Linked DNA regions of Homo sapiens: region 2 is linked to region 1. Evidence: promoter capture Hi-C in human tissues and cell types (Jung and others, 2019). All regions are on one chromosome and are shown on one strand. The core of a region is centred on a gene start or on the middle of the fragment in contact, and the rest is flanking DNA. Distances in the headings are between cores, read along the strand shown. Region 1 holds the start of KCNK3 (potassium two pore domain channel subfamily K member 3). Region 2 overlaps SELENOI (selenoprotein I).

Region 1 (4,435 bases), core at 616-3,115:
GGGCCCTTTCCTCCCTCTTCCAAGAGAAGAATCCAGAAACGACACAGCATAGCTCCCCATGGTCCCCAGGGAGCCGTAGATTCTTGGAACAGTGTCCTGCAGTGGATAGACCGCAGGAAGAGTGTCTAGTCCTGCCTTTTACTCCCTCAGCTCCTGTTGACTCCCAGGAAAACAATGCCATCTTCATGGGCTGCGCTAAGTGGCAACGAACCCCTGGGAGTCTGATCAAGGCAGGGAAGGGGACTAGGGAGAGGAGAGGGAACAGTAAAGACAGAGGAAACTGCTTCTGGAGGCATCTCAATGGGCTTTGGGGGAAGGTGGGTTTCATCTCAGAATCCAAGCACGTCGGGGCTGGGGAGGAGCTCTTGAGATCATTTTGGCCACCCCTCCTTGTCTGGAGGTGAGCCTGAGACCCAGACAGGGGAAGGGACTTGCCCAAGGTCATATATCACGGTAGTGATGGAGCTGGGCTGAAATCATAGGGTGTTGGGGACAGGTAAGGTGTTATTCCCGTCTGGACAGTTTTGAATAGCACCACCAAGGGCCTGGCTAGAGATTCCTTTCCTGGGCAACGTTTGTTCTCTCTCTCTCTCTCTGTCTCTCTCTCTGTGTGTGTGTGTGTGTGTGCCCGCCCTGTGTGTACCCTGTGAGTGCCTGTGTGTATCTGTGTGCATGTGTGCCTATGCCTGTGTTGTCTGACAGTCTGGGTGTACGTGTGGCCTCCTACATGGTGATCTGCCCTGGCTTGGAAAGAACTGGGGTTATTCCTGTGAGGTGACTGTTTTGCTGGGACAGCAGAGAAGAAGGCTGACAAGGCCAGATCTGGCTTCCCGCACCAATTCTGCCGCTCTGAGAAAATCACAGGCACTGACTGGTGGCGACCAAACTCCTGGAGCTGAAACACGCAGACACACGTACACTCACAGCCGCCGTTATAGGGTGGCCCCAAGTGCCCCGAAGTGCCGCATTCCGACATCCTCATGCCTCCCCAGAGCCCAGCAGGTGTAGACCTGCTAGGCTGTGGAAGCCGATCCTCAGGGATACGGAGCACTGGCGCTCTCCCGCCGCTCACTCTCAGCGCCCTGTTCAGGGCCTGGCCCGGCCACACCCCTCCTGCCCGAGCCTCCGCCGGTCGTCCCTGCCCCTCTCACACACTTCGGAGTCCCTGGGGGCCTATGCAACATGGCAGGGCCAAGTTAGGGCTGGCCCGGCCGGAGAGTCAGGTCCGGAGCCAGGAATCGACGCCTCCCCGAGTTCCGTCCCCGCGGAGCACACACGCCAGGCTGAACTCGGGTTTCTGCGAGCGCAGGGTTCGGCGCCCAGCCCCTCTCGGGGGAGCCCCCGCCCCCAGCCCCAGCCGGCCCCGGACGACTCCCGGAGCCCCGCGCCCAGCCCTGGGTTCCCGCCCCCCGCCCGGCGAGCCGTTACCGATGGTGGTGATGACGGTGATGGCGAAGTAGAAGGAGCCGGCGAAGCGCCACTGCACGCCGGCCTTGTGCGGCTTGAGGCGCAGCACGACGCGCTCCAGCTCCTCGTAGCCGCCCTGGCTGAGGTTGTAGCGCGCCCGCAGCTCCTGCTGCCGCAGCTCCAGCCGCTGCCGCTCGATCAGCTCGGGCTCCGACTCCAGCGCGTCGAAGACCGCGGCGCCCACCAGCAGGTAGGTGAAGGTGCACACGATGAGCGCCAGCGTGCGCACGTTCTGCCGCTTCATCGTCCCGCCCGGGCCGCCGCCGGCCCCCCGGCGCCCCCGGCCCGCGCCTCGGCCCCGGCCGCCGCTGCTGCTGCCCCGGAGGCGGCCTGGGGCATGGCTGCGCTCGCCGCTCTCCGCGCCGGGCACCCGCTCAGCGCCCGGGGCCGCCGCCGCCGCCGCCGCCGCGGAGCTGTCCCTTCAGCACCACCCACCGCCCTCCTCCGCCCGGCCCCGCGCCCGCCCCCCGCCCCCCGCCCGCAGGCCGCCTCCTCCCGCCAGCCCTCCCGCCCAGCCAAATAAGGACTGGGGAGACGCGCCGAGGAGGGAGGAGGGGGGCTGGCGGAGGGGACGGGAGGGGCGGCCGCGAGAGAGCCCGGGCAGGACAGAGAGAGAGAAAGAGAGAGAGAGCGAGCCCGAGAGACAGAGAAAACTAGACAGCGAAACGCTGATAACTACGGAGAATGGGAGAAAGGCAGTGTAGGACTGAGGGAAGGGGGCTGTGTGACAGAGGAGGAGATAAAATCAGAGGTGCACTCAGACAGAAAAAGAAGAGAGGCGGGCAGAAAAATACAGAGCAAAAGATGGAAACAGAGAGAGCAACAGACTGAGACAGAGAGGCCTGGATTGCTGGAGATAAACTAATGACAGAGAAACAGACAGGAAGGCAAGGAAGGCAGAGCGAGCCCCTCCCCACCCCACCCTCCACCCTCATCACAGCATATTGCAGCCAGGAGGCACTTGGGGCCTCGCTGTCCTGCCCTTATCCTATGGATGAGGAAATGGAGGCCCAGAGAGGTCAAGTGACACGCATGGGCACGCAGTGATTTCGTGACAGCACTGGGACTCAGCCAAGCGTTCCTTCCTCCCAGGCCACACTCCTTCCTCCCTTGGGCCAGACTCTGGCTGTCTTGGAAGCAGGCAGGGCCCAGCTGTGGACCTGGGCACACATGAGCTGACACCCAAGGGAAAGCCCTGTTCTCAGGCAATGTGTGCCTTCCCAGGTCAGCACAGTTCTTGGAACTGGCTGAGAAGGCACAGGCTGGGAGTCTAGGCCTCCTGCTTCGCTCCCAGGGGCTTCTAGGCTGTCCCGACTCCCATGGTTCCTGTCTTGCACCCGTGCACCAGGCTGGGCTTAGGCTGAGTTGCCAGAGATAGCACCTGCCACCACCTTAGGGCATCCCAGCAGAACCGGGATCTAGCTGGAATTGGGCAGGTGGGGCCCAGAGCAGGAGGCTCACTGGCAGACTGCGGGAACTGGGGCAGGAGAGGGGGTCCCTATGCCTCAGTTTCTTCATTTGTCAAACATGGTGGCTATGGTGGTGAGGTGGGAAGGGTAGTGGAAACTCAGGCATTACTGACCCTCTCAGAGCCTTGTTTCCTTATCTTTTCAACGAGGTGTCGTAGCAGATGATCCCACAGGCCTTGCCCAGCTCTAAACAACTCCAGACTTGGATGGGCTGAGTGAGCAGAATGATTGGAATGCAAATCTCAGTGCCAAGAAGGGTTAAAAAGTCCTTCACAGGACCCTGGCATGGGCCAGGCAGAGAGACAGGGAAGAGACACCAAGGCCCCTGACTGAGAGCAGACTCAGGAGGCAGTCAGCCAGAAGCTGGAGCACTGTCTACCCACAGGCTGGGCTGACCTGTCACTGCCGGACACTACACTCCTCCAATGACACCCCAGAAGTGCCACCAACCCCTTCATTCCTTCAACAAGTATTTATTAAGCATCTGTTGTGTGTCAGGGATTCATCATCTCTGGTCCTCACCACAATCCTGAAAGGTAGGTGTGGTCATGCCTATTTTATAGATGGGGAAACTGAGGCTAAAGGCAATGTAGAGAATCAGTAAATTTCACTCAGCTGGGAAGAGGCTTCAGTCTGTCTGCCTCTTAAGCCCATGCTCTTTGCCATGACTCCTTGAGTCTCTCTTTTTTTTTTTTCAATTTGTAAAGTGGAATAGATAATAATATTAGCTCTACCCGCGTCTTGAACCATTTGTTTTGAGAGATCAAAGAAGAACACATGTGTGCAAATCAGATGATATGAGGCTCTCTAATGACTTCAGAGCCCAATGGGAGGGTCCTACATTTATAGCACCATGTTCCCCCTCCCTCTTCAAGGGAAGATCTTTGTTTCTTTGCAGGCACAGAATTTCTGGTCTTGCCCTCTGACCAGCAACTCAGCCTATTGCAGGCTTTTCCCCTTTGCATCTTCTGGCTCCCTGGAAGGAAAGTACTGCCTTTCCCAGCTTCTCAGAGGTGAAGGTACAAGTTAGGTTCTGTGCATTTCTGATGTATTGGCTCCTGGTGACAGTCACCCCAGAAGCGAATTCCCCCAAAGCCTGTCTAGATGAGCAAGAGGGTTGCTAGACCAGGTTTTCAAGGTGAAAAGGCTGTGTCCAGGTTCTGCTTGCTTGTGACTGCCAGGCCAGACAGCTGTACCGATGAAAGGTGATATTATGAGTGAAAGAGCTTTGGAAAAGGGAAAAAGCTGTCTTTAGGGGCAGGGCATGTATTATTAATCATGATGAAGCTTTTTCTCTGAGCACTTCAATACTGAAAGGACCTTTAGAGATCATTTAGCCCAACCTTCTCATGTTACATATGAGGAAACTGAGGCCCAGACAGTAGGAAGAGTGTTGTCCAAGGTCACACAGTGAGTGAGGGGGAACCAGGACTCATGTCCCAAGGTTGGCACTTTCTTGTTGCACCTATTATGTGTGGGACCAGGGCACCTATCAGTGG
Region 2 (4,435 bases), core at 493-2,992, 320 kb after region 1:
CAAATCTTTGGCTGACCACTAAACTACACAGACACAAAGGAGACCCCCAAGAGACCTGGCTAAAAAAGCAGCAGCTAAAAGCTGAAAATAACCAAACAGAGACAAGAGCTACTTAATACAATGTGATGGGACAAATTTCTTCATCTGTGTCCAAACAAGTTAAATGCCTATCAGAACAAAAAACCAAAAATCCTCAGAGCAGAACAGATTATAGTCTCCACAAATATAATCTATAATATCCAGTTTTCAACAACAACAAAAAAAAAATTGCTAGGTATGCAAAGAAATAGAAAAAAAAGCAGTCAACAGAAAATGACTCTTAAGTGGGCCCAGATGTTGGACTCAGTAGACAGACTTTAAAGCAGCAATTTTAAATATGTTCAAAGAACTAAAGGAAAATATGATGATAATAATGAACAGAAGAATCTCAACAGAGAAATAGAAAGTTTAAAAACCAAATGGAAATTCTACAGCTGAAAAGTACAATAACTTTTTTTTTTTTGAGACAGGGTCTGACTCTGTTGCCCAGGCTGGAGTACAGTGGCACAATTACAGCTCACTGCAGCCTCGACTTCCTGGGCTCAAGTGATCCTCCTGCCTCAGCCTCCCAAGTAACTGGGACTACAGGCATGCACCACCATATTTGGCTTAATTTTTCTATTTTTTTGTAGAGACGTGATCCCACTATGTTACCCAGGCTGGTCTTGACTTCCTGGCCTCAAGCAATCCTCCCACCTCAGCCTCTCAAAGTGCTGGGACTACAGGTGTGAGCCACCGCACCCAGGGAAAAGTACAATAACTTAAATGAAAGACTTCCTAGATGGGCTCAACAGCATATTGGAGATGGCAGAAGAAAAAAAAAGCAATGAATTTAAAGACAGATGAATAAAAGTTATCCACTACAAAGAATAAAGAGATTAAAGAAAACTTAATAAAGCCATAGAAAATTACTTTTAGGACAGTATCAGGCAAACCTGTGTAACACACATGTAAGTGGGGTCCCAGAAAAGAAGAGAGAGGGGAAGAAAAAATATCTCAAGAAGTGAAACTGTGACTGAAAACTTCACACATTCAGTCAAAAATACTTACAGGTCCAACAGAGTCAACAGCTCAACAAATACCAAGAAAGACAAACACAAAGAAAACCACACCTAGGTACATCACAGTCAAACTTCCGAAAGCCAAAGATAAAAAGAGAACCTTGAAAGCAACAAGAGAAAAATAATACATTACAGAGTGACAATGATATATGAGCTGACTCAGAAACAATGGATGTCAAAAGACATTAAAATGATATATTCAAAATGCCAAAAGAAAAAATTCAGGCAAAATCAATACACTTTCACGTAAGTAAAAAGAGAGAATAAACTGCTACCAGACCTGCACTATAAAAAAACCTAAAGGAAGTCCTTCAAACTTCTGGGAAAGAACACCACATGGTAGGTCAAATATAAGGCAAATATGTCAGTAAGTAAATAAACTGTATATTATAACACAACCCGGGGGCTAAGCAGGGGGCTAAAGAGTACTGGTGCATTTCAAACAAGATTGGCACTGGTATTGAAAATAGTTGAGACTGGGTAATAGTACACAGGGGTTTATTATATAAAAGTAGAAACATTATAAAGAAAATTATGTGCCTATTAGAGTACACACTTAACATTAAAAAATATGTCTCATATACCAGAGGATTCTGTCTTATCTAAATTTAACACTTAAATGTAACATGCAGGAAACCTGCCATGGGACAATCAAAAGGGTCACTACATAATTGGAGAAGAAAAATAGCATTTTTGAGGTAAAGAAAAAACAGTTTATACAGGTATCAAAAATGAACATTTGATAGATTTCAAGATAGTTCCTAAAATATGCACAGTCTAGAGCTACAGAAAAAAGCCCAAACCACTCCTTTTCTGAAAGCCAGTGCCTAATATACCATCTTCTAAACAGTTTCTAAGCCTTACCTAATTCCCATTCCATTACCAAGGTTCACCAAATGGGAAAGGGTTATTTTTTATTTATTCTTTTTTTTTTTTTTTTTTGAGACAGGGTCTCGCTCTGTCACCCAGGCTGGAGTGCAGTGGCACATGCGATCATAGCTCACTGGGCTCCGGTAATCCTCTGACCTCAGCCTCTCAGGTAGCTAGCATTACAGGTGCACGCACCACACCTGATTAACTTTAGTTTTTTCTAGAGACAGGGTTTCACTATGTTGCCCAAGCTGGTCTCAAACCCCTGGGCTCAAGAGATTCTCCCACTTTGGCCTCCCAAAGTGCTGGGATTACAGGCATGAGCCACTGTGTGTGGCCTATTTTTTAGATAAGAGAACAGAATACAGGACATAGCCCACACATATACCTTTTTACTTCTACAAAGGTTCTCAGTGCCACTCCTGGGGCCCCTAAATAACCATCTAGATTTCTCTTTACACTCGTTCCATACCACTAATACCCTCTCCACTCAGTCAATCATCCTACAGATATCCCCTTCAGCTAAAATCAAAACAGAAAGATTACCACCATAAAAAATCTTTAGCAATCAGTGGGTTAAGAAAGAGGATATCTGAGAGGAATAGAAGCTTAATTTTTTGAGTGGATACATTATAAAATAATCTCTACATTTCATCTGTCCTGTATTTCATACAAACTAGTAATTTTCAACTTTGAGATAAATATAAAACCTGTACCAAATGTGGACCCTCCAATACAGCCTAGGTTAATTTGAATAGTCACTTTATCAGGCTTATGTGATCTATTTTGGTATTTCCCTCTGATTAGAAATAGCTGATGCTGAACAAAAAAACCCCAAAAACAGGGAAACCTTATTTTTCTTAATGGTTAGGCTGAAATCCTACAAGGTTGTAGGGTTGTTCTGCTTCCTGGAGGTTTTGTGAGGCAAAGGGTGTTGTTGCTTGTTATAGTCAAATACCGGCTCTTTTGATAACAAAGTGATGGTTAAAACAGGCTTCAACATGGAGCTTCTTACCAATAATCATTGCAGTGAATAGGTCTCTATATAAGAAATTAAACAGGAAAGGTTCATACCAGGCCTCAACTCCCACAACTGCAGTCACTATGTAGACAAAAGAAATAGTCTGGAAGGAAAATGCAGACAAAAGCATACAGAAGCATTAACGCTAGAAAGATCAGGAGTCACCATGCTTTATGCAGCATTAAGTCAAGTCAAACAGTTTTAGTAAAGGCAAGAAGTATGCTTATATTTGGTATGTGGCAAGTCTTCTTACCTTTAAAAATACAATCTTTTGGCTGGACGTGGGGGCTCATGCCTGTAATCCCAGCACTCTGGGAGGCCAAGACGGGCAGATCACCTGAGGTGTCAGGAGTTCCAGACCAGCCTGACCAACATGGAGAAACCCCATCTCTACTAAAAATACAAAATTAGCCAGGCGTGGTGGCGCATGCCTGTAATCCCAGCTACTTGGGAGGCTGAGGCGGAAGAATCGCCTGAACCCAGGAGGCAGAGGTTGCGGTGAGCCGAGATCACACCATTGCACTCCAGCCTGGGCAACAATAGCGAAATTCTGTCTCAAAAAAAAAAAAAAAAAAATACAATCTTTTAGCCAACAATGCTATAAAATAACTAACTTGTAGACAATGCAAGCAACTGGCCATCATTTGGAGCACTTTAACAGCAACTCATAAATTGGTTAAGTTGTAAGATGATCCAAATTTACCCACCCAACCACTTCAACAAACACTCCAACTTCTGATTTCTTTACTGGAGACTTAGGTGCAAATGGGCAAAATGGCAACACAAAAAGCTGGGATTCAAGGCAGGGAGAGTTAATAGCAAGGCCATTAAAGTAAGAAAAAAGAAATCTCTCTACACACTGAAAAGGTGGCAATGAACACAAAAAGCCAACCATTCAATTATATGTGCATATCTTTCTTTCCAAAATCAAGAGTTCAAATGAACATGCAATAACATTAAGAAATGGTTAAATTTTTGGTGTAATACTGGCATTGTGATTGTTTTTTTAAAGGAAGCTTTTATCATTTAGAGATATATAGCGAAGTATTTATCATATAATATCAGAAATTTCCTTTAAAATAATTGAGAAGGGTCGAGCACGGTGGCTCATGCCTGTAATCCTAACACTTCGGGAAGCCAAGGCAGGAAGATCACTTGAGGTCAGGAGTTAGAGACCAGCCCAGCCAACATAGTGAAACCCTGTCTCTACTAAAAATATAAAAATTAGCCAGGCGTGATAGTGGGCACCTGTAATCTCAGCTACTCGGGAGGCCTCAGCCTCAGCAATGGGTACATTAGGGTCTATTCTCTCTACTTTTTCCTAAATATTCTCTCTACTTTACTATTCACTATACTATTCTATTTTTGAAATTTTCCATAAATAAAAATAAAAAATTTTTAAGTACATATCAATTCTAATCAAAAAAGCCTAAGAGCAATAAAT

Evidence for each region. The method cuts DNA at HindIII sites, captures the fragments that hold promoters and counts their contacts. A contact is called where the count stands out against the background at its distance.
Region 2: a contact is called between a fragment that was not itself captured here and the fragment with the promoter of KCNK3 in region 1, in 1 of the 25 tissues and cell types used here (mesenchymal stem cells).

The regions. Positions count from the first base shown.
Region 1 is chr2:26,690,152-26,694,586 of GRCh38, reverse strand. It overlaps KCNK3 (potassium two pore domain channel subfamily K member 3), which reads right to left and starts at 1,865. Exons shown (of 2, transcript NM_002246.3): 1 at 1,429-1,865. The coding sequence starts at 1,711. The HindIII fragment of the contact is 34,558 bases long and covers 1-4,435 here.
Region 2 is chr2:26,373,699-26,378,133 of GRCh38, reverse strand. It overlaps SELENOI (selenoprotein I), which reads right to left. Exons shown (of 10, transcript NM_033505.4): 6 at 2,986-3,094. Among named protein-coding and RNA genes, the nearest start is that of DRC1, 26 kb to the left of the region's middle. The HindIII fragment of the contact is 4,975 bases long and covers 1-4,229 here.